Regions from separate parts of the Homo sapiens genome. Here all the other regions are linked to region 5. Evidence: promoter capture Hi-C in 16 types of primary human blood cells and fetal thymus (Javierre and others, 2016). All regions are on one chromosome and are shown on one strand. Each heading gives the region's core, a stretch centred on a gene start or on the middle of the fragment in contact. The rest is flanking DNA. Distances are from core to core; before and after follow the strand shown. Region 1 overlaps PLEKHA1 (pleckstrin homology domain containing A1). Region 2 overlaps PLEKHA1 (pleckstrin homology domain containing A1). Region 3 overlaps LINC02641 (long intergenic non-protein coding RNA 2641). Region 4 overlaps PLEKHA1 (pleckstrin homology domain containing A1). Region 5 holds the start of C10orf88 (chromosome 10 open reading frame 88).

Region 1 (2,700 bases), core at 119-2,618, 560 kb before region 5:
GAAATAATTAAGTTGCTGTACGAGGGAGTGCATTTGAAGATATTCGAAAAAGTATTTGGCAAAATGAGTTTAGGAACTCATAATCAACAAATGGCCTATTTCCCTTTTTTTCTTAAATGTTCTATTAGTTTGTTATTTCTTGTTCATTGTCAAGTAACAAATTTTGAATCTCATTTTTTTCCAGTCGAACCTGATGGTAATCATACTAGTCCACAGAAACTGCGTATTTTGAATATTGTTTTTCTCTCAGCTACTTAAATTTCCCCATAGTGTACTACTATTACTGTGACACTTTATGTCATGCTTTGGTTTCTCATTTGTCTTCCTTCCACAAAGGCTTAGAGCTCTATTCAGCAGTTAAAATAATAGGCTCATGAAAAACTGAAAAGAAATAAATTATTACCCTTAAATGGAAGGGTAACAGTTTTTGAAAAAATCACTTTGGTGGTAGTTAGAGATTCTTGAAGACATATTTACATTTCTTTTCCTTCTTTAAAGTTAAAAACCAAAAACCCATAAATCTAAAACGTTATACATAAGAATACAAATAGCTTTTTAATGTTATACATTAATGAATTATAATTTTATTTTATATGCATATTTACTATTGATGATTTATATTTGGAAGCTTGTACGTAGTATATAGTTTAAAGCAGAACATAATTAATGGAGTTTTACAATATATAGGTGTGAAAGTTTTTAAAAGATCTGTCCCTGTCAACAATAAGCAGTTCATGTTTGGGACTCTTAAGTCTTTGAAATGTCTAGGCTTCCAGTTACCTCCTAATCATTCATTAGAACAAGCCAATAGATTTTTATATTTTTAAGTACGTTATTATAAAGTCAGTTGAAAAGTTGATCCTGTCTTATCTCCAGCAGAAATAATTTTCAAAATCAACTAAAACTAATGTTTTCATTTTTACTTCTGAAATCTTCTATCAGTCTTTTATCAGTCTTCTATCATAGAAATGAAATTTATATTCTTGATTTGTTTTCCCCAGATTCTTTTGTCTGGTTTTCCTACCTCTATCTTCCTCTTCTATAATCCCTTCAGTTTATTATAAGATATATTATAAAAAGAGCATAATTTTGATTCCAGATCTGCTCATAAGCCTTCTTCGTTGGCCTCAAATTCTCTACGATATAAATTCTTTGCTACTTTTTTATTTAGGTCCTCTATGATTAGGTTCTCAGTTCAAGTTTTCAGACCACCATTTTGTACTACAATCTTACAGGACACTGCATTACAGCCCCACATAGCCCCCCTCTCTCTTTCTAGTACAGAGCTGTGCATCTTCCATTGTTTGCTATAGTTTGTCCATTTTCTCTGCTTGGAATATTCTCCCCTGCTTTTTGTGTTTCAAAATTTTCCTTAACCTCCAGCCTAAATGTTGTTCATCACTTCAGTCTTTCTGGATAGCTTCAACCAGAGATGATTCTCCCTCTATGTTTACCTTTAGCTCTTTTGATGCAAACCACATCTGAAACTTACGGGAAGAATGAAAATACTGTGTGTGAAAGTGCCTACATTCCCTGCATATGATAAAGAGAAGCAAACATTTTTTTGTGGAAAAAAAAGTATCAATGTAGATTAATATGGCATAAAAAACAGTAAACCATTTAAATGGGGGGAAATGCAGTCCATTTTTGTCAAGAGATACTTGATAAAGAAATTTTAATAGAACAAAGTAATATGTATAGTCTTTTTAAGTATCTTACAATTATATTTGTTTTCTGCCTGTAAATATTTCCCCCTTGCTTTCAGGAACAAAATCTGATCTTGTTCATGGCTTTTTAAGCTCATGAGAAAGTATTAGTTTAGCTCCAGTGATAAAAATAGCCTTTTAGTCATAGAATGCATGATAATGGAACAGAGTAGGATTCAGTTTTGTTATCCAAGCTATGGACTTGATTTCAGACCTAGTAAAAATTTGAACAGAAGAAAAGTTCATTTGTAAAATGTGATATTAAAAAATTGAGTTTTTAACTTTTCAGAAGTATATGTGGAACATTATATTATAAAATGAATTCATAATATTGGATATTAAGTATATATTAATACTTTGTTTCTAGAACCTACCTTCTGGATCATCACGTGTTGGAGCCATTAAGCTTACCTACATTTCAAAGGTAGTCTTTATACATTGTCTTATACTCGTGTGAATTAAAATCCCTGTGAATGAGAGTATGAATAGAAGCAGCAGTTTCCTTTCCATGTCCTTTAACAGTGATGTTCAGATTCCTATCATACTGAAATGGTACCTGATTACTACGTTTAGGAAATTCTTTAAATCGATACAGTTATGAAGAATATGATTTTAACTTACAGGATGTGGCAAATTGCAAAAGTTAACATTAACTTTTATGATCAGGTATATGAACATCAGAAAGGGAGAAATCAGTGAAACAAATTCTATCTTGAGAAAGTCTGGAGATTTTTCTAAGTCTGTATTATGTTTATTTAGACTGTTTTCAACTTTTAAATCCCATTGTCTTTGATACTTTGTTTCTTAATGTTTTATTTTGAGGAAAATATGGACCATTTTCATGTTGAAAGGATGATTTTCCCCCTCTTTTCACTTTGTCTCTTTTCATTTCTGTTTTCTTATTTGTTTTTCTGGTAATTTTGCAATACTATTTTTTATTTTTTAAAATTTTGATTTTATGTTTGTCAGGTACATTTTTTTCTTATTTTCTTCT
Region 2 (2,700 bases), core at 172-2,671, 540 kb before region 5:
ATCTTTGCTTAATTGGTATAATATACAATTACTATAAAATATTTTTGTTTATTTCAAAAGTATTTATTATAAAAAATTTGGAAATTACATAACATTTAAAACTTCTCATGATTTCTCTGAGCCTTTCTTCATGTACTTTTCACCTCAGAAATGGAGATATGAGTTGTATATTACATTTTGTAAACAGATTTTTTCACTTGTATCATGAACATTTTCCAAGTCATCAGAAATCCTTTTATATCATTTTTAATGAGTGCATAGTAGTTCTTCCATGGATTTACCATAAATTACAAATCCTCTATTGGACAAATAGAGTTCCTTTTCCTTTTTGTTTCTTTTACTTTATAAACAATGCTATGATGAATATTCTTAAAGGAGAAATTCCTAGAAATAAAATTGCTGAGTCAAGAGTTTGCAAGTAGTAATTTTTAAAATCTATTTTTTCTACAACCTGGCCTAAGTGAGCTAAACAGAAGACTGGAATTTTAACTAAGTTATATCTCAGAAGTACTAATATGCTAAATTAAGTCTTTATTTGAGTTTTAGGAAAAATATAAATTTACATACAATTTTTGATGAAATTAAAACTCTTGTCTGAGCTTGAATTTCTTGTTTTGCTATTGAAAAGGATGAATTTGTAATGGATATTAAGTTACTAGTAGTTGAGAAACCAAGAATTTTAAAGTAATCAATTGGTATTGCCAAGCTTGGGTATTTTCATTACCAGTGTGCCTTTTGAACTCAAAAGACTTTGACACTTTATAAATCTTTTAAATCAAATTGTATCATTCCCCACATTTTTCAGGTCTTTTGCTACGGGAGGGTGATTAGTGGGATTAGAAATCTTACAACATTAATTAATTAATTAACTATTGAGTGCTTTCTTTATGCTTGGCAAAGGGTATGTTAATGAACAGAAATTCCCTGCTGTCATAGAGCATACATTTTCCACCAAAGTTGGATAAAAAAATAAGCTAGGATTGTGTGTTTACTTTTTCCAAAAGTAATGATTTTAAACTGTTAACCTTCTGGTTACTATGTACCTAGATTAAGCTTCTTTCACTGGTATTATGACCTATGTTGACATAAGGGGTAAGACTATTTTCCTGTAGTTGTGTTAAGACACTGTATTAGTTTGTATCTGTGGCTGTTTTAATTTTGTCTAGAGTTAAGATTTTGTTGCATTGTAATTTTGGTATAGATATTTCAGTAGTTTCTAGGATTTTATGGAGGGTATAATTTTATTGCATCATTTATTTTGTAGTATAGTTTTAAAAATTATAAAATAATATATGTCTATCATAAAAGGCAAAAATTGGTAAATTGGACCTCATCAAAATAAAAAATACTTGCTCTATGAAAGACCTTCTTAAGAGGATGAAAAGAAAAGCTACAAACTGGGAGAAAATATTTGCAAACCACATGTCCAACAAAGGACTTTTATCTAGAACATAGAAAGAACTCAGAACCCAACAGTAAAAAGCCCAAGAAATCCAATTAGAAAATTCATGAACAGATATTTCATCAAAAGATAAAAGATAAACAGATGGTAAGTAAGCACATGAAAAGATGTTCACCATCATTAGCTAGCAGGGAAAAAATACAAATTAAGAGCACAATAAAAGATCACTGCACACCTCTCAGAATGGCTGAAATAAAAGTGACGACACAAATGCTGCCAAGGTTGAGGAGAAACATAATCTCTCAGGTGTTGCTGGTGGGAATGAAAATTAGCCACTCTGAAAAACAGTTTAGTGTTTATGTTTTGTTTTTTTTTTAATAATAAAAGTAAGCTTGTGATTACTGTACAACCCAGCATTTGCAGGACTAGGTGTTTATCGTAGAGAAAGGGAAAATTACATTCACATAAAAACTTGTGCATGAATGTTGATAGCAGCTTTTTTCCTAATAGCTAAAAGTGGGAAACAACTCAAATGTCCTTTAATGGGTGAACAGTTAAACAACTGGTCATCCATCCATACCATGGAAATATAGCAATAAAAAGGAATGAACTCTAGATACAAGGAACAGTCTGGACGAATCTCTAGAGAATTATGCTGAGTGAAAAAAGATAATCTCAAAAGATAACCTTCTGTATGCTTCCATTTACATTACATTTTCAAAATGTCAAAATTATAGTCTTGGAGAACAGATTAGTGGCTGCCAGGGGATTTAGGGGTAGGAACTCTAAAGTTCACAAAGGAGCCTTGGGGTGATGACCAATTCTGGGTCTTAAATGTGGTAGTAGTTACACAGATCTACACATGTGATAAAACTGCATAGAACTGTATAGACACACATAGATGAATGTATGTAAAACTGGTGGAATCCGAATAAAGTTTGTGGGTTGTGCCAATGTCCATTTCTTGTTTTTTGATAATGTTACGCCGTTTCCCTTTGAGGGGAAACTAGTGAAAGGGTACATAGGACCTGTTGTACTTTTTTTGGGCAGCTTCTGGTGAATCCTTATAATTATTTCAAAATAAAAAGTTAACTCCTTCCCCAAAAAAGAGCACTGGTGGCAGGACTTGTGCAAAACAAGAGGAATGGAAATTTGTGCTTTAATCAGTGACAGGAAAATTAAGAGTAAGTATCTCAGATTAATTAGAAAACTCTTCAAAAATCTGTTTCTGACTAATCTAAGGTGGATTTTAAGATTTTCTACTGGGATAATATGAAATAAAAGTATGCTAAACAAGC
Region 3 (2,700 bases), core at 6-2,505, 590 kb after region 5:
GAAGGAGGAGCAAAGTCACGTCTTACACGGTGTCAGGCAAAAGAGCATGTGCAGGGGAACTTCACTTTATAAAACCATCAGATCTCATGAGACTTACTTACTATCACAAGAACAGCACGGGAAAGATCCACCTTCATGATTCCATTAACTACTACTAAGAATTATGGGAGCTGTAATTCAAGATGAGATTTGGGTGGGGACACCAACAAATCATATCATTCTCTTTCTAAACTTAAATTTTTTTTTTTTTGCACATTAGTGTTTACATTACCTTGTTGGAGTGAGACTTGCCTGCATTTTATTTCTGATTCACTCTTTACTGATTTTAGCCTAGGCTCTGTTACTAACAGAATATGTGACTTTTGGCAAGTTAATACCTCTCTCTAGGCCTCACTCTTTGACATAGGAGATTATGTTAGTTTTCCAGGGCTGCCATACAAAACACCACAGGCTGGATGCCGTAGAAAAGAGATATTTATTTTCTCAGAGTTCTGAGTACTAGAATTCCAAGATCAAGGTGTCAGCAGGCTTGGTTTCTCCTAAGGTCTCTCTTCTTGGCTTGCAGAAGGCCATCTTCTTCCTGTATCCTTGCATGACCTTTTCTCAGTATGCATGCATCCCTCGTGTCTCTCCCTCTTATAAGAATATCAGTCCTAATGGGTTAGGGCCCCATCCTTATGACCTCACTTCACCTCAGTTTAATTTTCACCTCACCTTTAAAGATCCTGTCTCCAAATATAGTTATATTAGGGAGTAGGGCTTCAACATGTGAATGCTGAGGGGACACAATTCAGACTATAGCAGAGAGAATTAATTAGCCCTAGATCAGTGGTTCTTAAACTCCAGAATTCCCAGGCGGGATTCCCGGGCCCTGTCCCAAGTTTCTGATTCAGCTTTAGAATCGGGCTTTGGATTTTACATTTGTGGTGATTCCCAGATGATATTTATTCTGCTGGTCCAGAGAGCACACTTTGCAAAAACCACTTGTGCAGACCTTTAAGATAACTATAAACTGTGCAACAACAAACTTAAGACAGAGAGAACACACAATTTTAAAGGGCGCTTTTGGCAGTGCAAATGATGCAATGGTAAATTTTGCAAGTTGGGTTTTGATATGGTTTGGCTCTGTGTCCCCACCCAAATCTCATTTTGTAGCTCCCATAATTCCCATGTGTTGTGGGAGGAAACAGGTGGGAGATGATTGAATTATGGGGTGGGTCTTTCCTGTGCTGTTCTTGTGATAGTGAATGGGTCTCATGAGATCTGATGGTTTTAAAAACGGGAGCTGCCCTGTGCAAGCTCTCTCTTTTTTGCCTGCTGCCATCCACGTAAGATGGGACTTGCTCCTCCTTGCTTTCTGCCATGATTGTGAGGCCTCCCCAGCCATGCGGAACTGTAAGATTAAAAAAAAACTCTGTCTTTTGTAAATTGCAGTCTCGGGTATGTCTTTATCAGCAGCATAAAAATGGACTAATATAGGTTTATTAAAAATTAACAGATTTTTAAAAAGAAGGAGGTAGAAAACAATATGTCTTGAACATCTCAGGAATAATGTAAGTAGGCAAATCTACATAAATGGAACTCATCCTATTTCAACTCCAGGGTTTACATATTTTTAAAAGCTCCCTTAGAAACATGGCTCAGCAACCCTAACCACAGGGAAGGTAACCACTTCTCTGCTGGTTCCTAAATGATGCTTTCATAAGCACTGTTTACAGGGCAAGAAATACTCAGTCCTGACATTGGATTATTCTTCACAATTTATGTTGTTTGTCCAGAAATTTAACTCTTTTCACAATCAGCTTTCTCTGGACAAGGACACTGTATTCTTTTAACAGGATTTTTTTTTTTTTTTTTTTTACCTGTATGACACAGTATGCCAGATAAAGAAACCGTTTCTTTCAGGCTTTTAATCTCCTCCGAGAGCGAAAGTAGTATTTGCTGAAATAAAAATACACCTTGGCAGAAATGCGATGCTAATCCTCTTAGTTTTAATGGTTTGGAAATGGTTGGAGTAAGAAGGTAAACATTGTAGTTGATTAATAGGAAGGAAGTCAATTGTCCATGTAGCCACTGCTATATGCCATACTGTACAATACTGCTTTATTTTTATAAACCCCCAAACAAAGTCTCTCTCCATGTTAATGTTCTTACTTGAAAAGTGATCTACTTGCACCGTGCAGCTCCTAAGTGTTTGATTCCATTACCCCCAAAAGCAAGCAGTGCACATTTCAAATCGACGTCAAACAAATCCCACTGATAACGGGTGTCATATCAATGACTTATCAGGTCTTTTTTATTGAAAATAGTCGGATATAATGAGGTGCTTCACATTTAAAAGTCTTAAATCTTTGAAAGCTCCAAGCCTAGATGGTTTTGATACTAGCTTATTAAACTTGCCCTGGAAGAGAAAGCAGGAGTGGTTGGGGGTGGGTGTGAGCGAGAGTAAGAAAAACCCGGAGGAGGGGAGATGGAAGACTGAGCAGACTGACTTAACCCCACGTTGGCCATGGTGCAAAGATCATGTTTGCTGATAGCCGTTTCTACCAGCACCTCCCAGGGAGGACTCAGAAAAAGGAGGCTCAAAGTGCTTTTGAGCATCCGTATGTTGCTGCCTCCCACAAATTCTCCAGTAATTATTTTGCCAGGATCTCACAGCCTCCTTTGCATGGTGACAAGCCCTCCATTTATTAAACTTGA
Region 4 (2,700 bases), core at 42-2,541, 570 kb before region 5:
CCATGTCAGGTGTTCCCTCCCATTATTAAGGATGAGAATGCTATTGCATATGTCATCAGGTTATTCAGCAGTCCAAGCTTACTGAGAACAAACACAAGAGTTTTAATGAGTTTTAATTTTCACTATTCACTGCCTTTAACTGTATTTTGTAGGCTCTTTCCCACCCCCCTGTCCCCCACCCCCCATAACATCATGGGTAAATGATAGCTTTTCTGTCATTTACAGTTATCAAAAAGCTCTAGGCTGGGCTCAGTGGCTCATGCCTGTAATCCCAGCACTTCAGAAAGCCGAGGTGGGAGGATAGCTTGAGCCCAGGAGTTTGAGACCAGCCTGGGCAACATGACGAAACCTTGTCTCTACAGAAAATAGAAAAATCAGCCGGGCGTGGTGGCATGTGCCTGTAGTCCCAGCTAGTTGGGAGGCTGTTGTAGGAGGATCCCTTGAGCCTGGGAGGCAGAGGTTCCAGTGAACAGAGACTGTGCTGTGGCACTCCAGCCTGGGTGACAGGAGAGTGAGACCCTGTCTCCAAAAAAAAAAAAAAAACAGAAAAACAAAAACAAAAAATTGCAGTCTATTCCAGTTTGAACATTCAATCTCATATATATTCAATTTAAAGGTTTTTTTTCCCTTCCTTACCCTGTGGTCAGGCCACTTACTTACTGAAGCACTTGGGGTATGGACGGCTTGTGGTAAGCTCCTGGGATACTTCTTTCCTTTCCCTCTTAAGGGATCTATTTGGATACAAATGTGTCAAGAAGAGAAGTAGAAAAAGACAAGTGTTTGTTATCTGGTGCTATTAGAGTCCTCTCTTGATTAACAGTGGCAGGCCATTGCAGTCTACTAATAGGCAACCAAACTGGCATTTTTGGTGAGATCTTGCAGGGAGACTCCTGCTGCACAGTTTCTGGGTATGAAATTTTCTGTAGCTAAACCTTTTCCAACCTACACACCCATCTGCTTGCTCCCATCCTGTCAGTTTACCCACTGGTTACGTGAATGTGTGTGAGTCGGGGTGGAGATCTTTTCTCTCTGCAGCGAGATATTTTGATAATGGCAAAACAACTTCAATCCAGGTACGCTGTGGTTTCTATTCAACCCACTGGAAACTCACTTCCTTGTGATGTCGAATAGTGGCATACAGACTACTTAAGTCTGCCTTCTTTCTGTGCCCTGCCATTTCTCATCAATTCTCTTTGTCCCCCTTTTCAAGTAGACACATGGGGTCAGTCACTCAGTCTGCTGCATAAGCAGATGTGGAACTGGAGAATGGGATGCAAGTCTGTTCTAGGCTCCTCTGATCTTCATGAGTGATTTCTGTTAGAGGCCCCTGCCACTGTTTTGGTGAAGACCTCCTTCTTTTCCCTGCGTTCTCCCTGAAGACTTACAGTTCTTTCCCTCTCTTCTGTCAACTGCTCTTGCAGAGTGGAAGGATGGTGCTGATTAGGGTGCCAGAGCCATGCCTGACTCTACAGATATTTGATCCTCTATGTCTATATATCCTCAGCTTTGTGTTTGTCAGTGATTGTGGGGCAACAGGACTAGTCCCACTCGACATGTTTTAACAAATAATAGTGAAGTCTTGTGGGCCTGTTGAGGTCTCACTGTACAGAATTTAATTTTTCTTTGCTTTTTCTTATATCACTCAGGCTGTTTCTGTGTTTTGCCTTATTTTTTGGCTTCCTGGTTCCTGACTGATGAGGTGTTAACTGTAATTATGTTAATTTATGACTGATTTGTAAGATCTAACTATACCTTAGAGTATGAGTAAAGCTGAAGGAGAAATTTGGGTTGGGAGGCATGTTAATAATATAATTGTGTCTGGTTTTGCCTCATGTAAGTTTCACTAAAAATATAAATTTAAGTGGAAATACAGTATTTGAAACTTTTTCCTTCCATTATTTAAATAAATCAGTTAAATCTGGTAAATGATTCTTGTCTGATGAGGAAGAAACAACTTTCTATCTGGAAACTTAACGTTAATCTTTGATGCAGTAATTATGGGTTACTTCATCCGTCGTTCAACAAATAGTTACTGAGGGTCTTGCATGTGACAGCCACTGTGTTAGGCATTGGAGAAACAACAGTAAATAACAAATCCCTGCTGTCATGGAGCCTACATTACAGTGTGGGGAAACAGACAAGAATCAGGTAAATAAGTAAACTGTATCATTCATTAGATAATCAATAAATGCTAAGGAGAAGAATAACATGGGGAACCAAGGTGGAAGTAGCAAAACGGTTTGGAGGATTTGCAATTTTAGATAAGATCTAAAAGGCAGTGTTCACTGAGAACGTGACTTTGAGTTACAAGTCCCCGAGTGGGAATCTTGTCTGGTGAGTCCAGCGGCCAAATGAATGAGTAAGGTGGGTATTGGGATGGGGTAACAGGGCAGACGAGGCTTAGTGGTCTTTATGAGGGCTTTGGTTTTTAGGTTTTTACTTTGAGTGAGATGGGATCCCATTGAAACAGGTTGTCAACCTTGGCCGAACATTAGAATGATTGGGGAAGCTTTAAAAAAGTACTGATGCCTGGATCCCATCCCAGAATTTCTGATTTAATTGGTCGGCGGTGGTGGGGGAGGTGGTGTTTTAACGTAGGCATCAGGAATTTTTAAAATTCCCAGGTAATTCTGATAAGTGGCCAAGGTTGACATCTATTGCACTGAAGAGTTTTGAGCAGAGTGAGGTATTACATAGTAT
Region 5 (2,700 bases), core at 90-2,589:
TAAGTACACTTCCATATTTCTTGCTGAACTTAAAATGCCAATAGAAGCGATTTCTTCACCTCCATCAGGGCCACACCTCAGGTAAAGGAAGCAGGGGTTTTCATCTTTGTTGTTGTGGTTTCTCTTCAAAATCACCAGATCCTGACTGAGAAGAAAATTGGTGAAAACATCACACAGTATAGTTCTCTGAACATGACTCTTCTTTTTTGAGACGGAGTCTGGCTCTGTCGCCCAGGCTGGAATGCAGTGGCTCCATCTCGGCTCACTGCACGCTCCGCCTTCCGGGTTCACGCCATTCTCCTGCCTCAGCCTCCCAAGCAGCTGGGACTACAGGCACCCGCCACCGCGCCCGGCTAATTTTTTGTATTTTTCGTAGAGACGGGGTTTCGCCGTGTTAGCCAGGATGGTCTTGATCTCCTGACGTCGTGATCCGCCCGCCTCGGCCTCCCAAAGTGCTGGGATTACAGGTGTGAGCCACCGTGCCCGGCCGGGGCTTCTTTCTTCTAACTCACTTCCACTTGCCCTTGAGGTCCAAGCACCTTCCCAAGCATCCAAGAAGCGCTCAACACAGAATTCATACGGAAATGAAGGTGTCACACATCAGGGCTTTCCCAAACTCTATTTTTTCCTCAATCAACATTCTACTCAATCCCCTGCAATTGACTCTCGGATAATTACATAAATCACTGGGCACCTACTGGGTGCAGGGCACAATGAAAGACAAAAGTGTATCTTTTTCGAAATTAAGTCGACAGCGATCATCTATAGCTGGACTTTTTACACAGCCTGTTTTGGTGGACAGGAGGTGTCTTGTTTGAGGGTAGAGGGGCGGACTGACTTTGACAGCAGCCCTGAGGGGCTATCACGCCTGATGGGGACGTTATATGAAATTCCGAGTCCGGGTCACCTTCCCCCTCTCACGCCCAGGAGCCTCGGCCCCTTCCCGGCCGGACCCACCCCCCTCCGCCCACCCCGGACGACCTCGCAGCTCCCCTCCCCAACTAGAGACCTGGTACCAACTGCTCTCCCGGATCCCGGGCTCAGACCCTCTCGCCTCCCCTCACAGCTCCCCTAGAAGCGCGGCAGTTGCCGAGCATAGCGACCCCGTCCCCGTCGGCCCGGCGCACCCTGGAGCAGGCGGTGCCAGCAGCTCCTCCCAGTCGAAGTCACCGGGGCCGAGACCGGCCCGGGTGAGGAGGAGGCTGTGGGTCAGGGCCCCGCCTGCAACATCCCAAGAAGAGGCCAGCGTGGGGCGGCGGGTGAGGCCCCCGTCCTCGGTCCGCGTCTCCATTCCGCCGCCTTCAGTCAGGCCAGCCCAGCCCCGGAACCTCTCTTCCAGTGCTTGAATTTCCGCCGGTACAGCGTGGAAATGGGCAGGCAAAGCGACTTCCGGCTCACTCCGCTTCAAGTACCCGCCGCTTCTTGCTTTGGTGGGGAGAGCAGGCACCAGAGACACGCATGCGCATGTGCCAGCTGGCCTCAGGCGCGGCGTTCAAAGTGTGCGGGGAGGAGGTCGAGAGCGGAGCATGCGCACTGGCAGACCCTTGCTCTTTCGCTGGAGACTATGCGCAGGCGCGGTGCACTGCGCGCCGGCACGAGGGTGTTTTCGACGTTGGCTGTGGGGAAACAGCAAGCGGCGTGGACGACCGTTGCTGAGCTGGTGTGGAACGTCTGTGATCAGGTAGGTGTAGTCTCGTCGCTCTACGCTGCGTGCAAGACCGACTCCTGACCTCGTTCTTTCCCAAGGGGACGCCAGGGCCTTTTCTGCTTCCATTCCGTCGGATCTGCAGCATTTGTGGCAGCTAGCGCGGCGGACGCGCTGCCGATTCGGGTTATTTTTACTTCGAATTCTCCTAGCCTCCCTCACACATATTCTCGCTTTAGAGGGGGGCTGAAGCGGATGATGGGGTTTTGGGGTTGAAGGGCATCTGTGATGGGCATTGAGCCACGCTGGCCTTCGCCGGGTGCTGTCTCAGCTGACGCCCCCTGACCCCATGTGCAACCCTCAGGCCGCAGGAACCCGGGCATCCAGGGCTGGACGCTCTAGGTGACAGAAATTTGAAATGCAAGAAAGACCCAGACACCGAAGGCAGGGGCTGCCCCATGAGATCGCTCCTCATGGCACTGGAAACAGCGAGTGGAAAGGGGGGGTCTCAGAACTCTGTTGAAGTAGAATATGAACTCAGTCTTGAAGGAACTTAAGGCTACGGATGCAGAACAGTGGGAGCAGATGGAACTTTCTAGATGCCCCACGGGATGGGACTGTATATAGTGTGCCCCCTCATCCTCCTCCTGTAGAGGCTTGTGCAGATTATTTTTCTGTCTTTTGAAAAAAGCAAACTCTGAAATTCCACTTGTCTATAATCTAGAGTTCCAAAGTTGTGTTTAAGGTGGTATCCTCTCTAGGAAATAACGTTTTTGCTCACCCATACTCTAATTTTCTTTCAGAGCTGTCTATTCTGGGTTCATGACTCAGTGCGCATTACTTTAATCTTTTTGCTTATGTTTTCGTTTGAGTTTATGTACTAGGACTTGTGCCCTCTAGCTAAAAATGAGAATAAACTTTGCATTCTGTTTACCTGTGTCAAAGCAAGAAAAATGATGACCAAATGTATTTTTCTATAAGTAATCACCAGAATGTACGTATGGTAGGTGAATTCACCAAGATTGAAAGAGAGAAATGTCACCAAAGGTCTATCA

What was found. Contacts are between HindIII fragments. The CHiCAGO score rates a contact against its expected background, and 5 or more counts as called.
Region 1: a fragment that was not itself captured here is called in contact with the fragment with the promoter of C10orf88 in region 5 in 1 of 17 cell types (naive CD4 T cells); the score reaches 5.2 in naive CD4 T cells.
Region 2: a fragment that was not itself captured here is called in contact with the fragment with the promoter of C10orf88 in region 5 in 3 of 17 cell types (total B cells, naive CD4 T cells and total CD8 T cells); the score reaches 5.9 in total B cells.
Region 3: a contact is called between a fragment that was not itself captured here and the fragment with the promoter of C10orf88 in region 5, in 1 of 17 cell types (total B cells). The highest score is 5.8, in total B cells.
Region 4: a contact is called between a fragment that was not itself captured here and the fragment with the promoter of C10orf88 in region 5, in 1 of 17 cell types (total B cells). The highest score is 6.6, in total B cells.

What each region holds. Positions count from the first base shown.
Region 1 is chr10:122,395,845-122,398,544 of GRCh38, forward strand. PLEKHA1 (pleckstrin homology domain containing A1) reads left to right here. Exons shown (of 12, transcript NM_001001974.4): 3 at 2,074-2,130. Among named protein-coding and RNA genes, the nearest start is that of MIR3941, 20 kb to the right of the region's middle. The HindIII fragment of the contact is 1,484 bases long and covers 627-2,110 here.
Region 2 is chr10:122,413,125-122,415,824 of GRCh38, forward strand. All of the region lies in intron 6 of PLEKHA1 (pleckstrin homology domain containing A1), which reads left to right. Among named protein-coding and RNA genes, the nearest start is that of MIR3941, 2.5 kb to the right of the region's middle. The HindIII fragment of the contact is 740 bases long and covers 1,052-1,791 here.
Region 3 is chr10:123,545,178-123,547,877 of GRCh38, forward strand. All of the region lies in intron 9 of LINC02641 (long intergenic non-protein coding RNA 2641), which reads left to right. All of the region lies in intron 1 of LOC105378530 (a long non-coding RNA gene), which reads right to left. Among named protein-coding and RNA genes, the nearest start is that of GPR26, 120 kb to the right of the region's middle. The HindIII fragment of the contact is 5,244 bases long and covers 1-2,700 here.
Region 4 is chr10:122,378,213-122,380,912 of GRCh38, forward strand. All of the region lies in intron 1 of PLEKHA1 (pleckstrin homology domain containing A1), which reads left to right. Among named protein-coding and RNA genes, the nearest start is that of PLEKHA1, 4.9 kb to the left of the region's middle. The HindIII fragment of the contact is 2,432 bases long and covers 76-2,507 here.
Region 5 is chr10:122,952,888-122,955,587 of GRCh38, forward strand. C10orf88 (chromosome 10 open reading frame 88) reads right to left here and starts at 1,340. Exons shown (of 6, transcript NM_024942.4): 1 at 1,128-1,340; 2 at 1-145. The coding sequence starts at 1,291. LOC124902519 (a long non-coding RNA gene) reads left to right here and starts at 1,555. Exons shown (of 2, transcript XR_007062325.1): 1 at 1,555-1,681. RefSeq lists a silencer at 1,056-1,135. The HindIII fragment of the contact is 5,860 bases long and covers 1-2,700 here.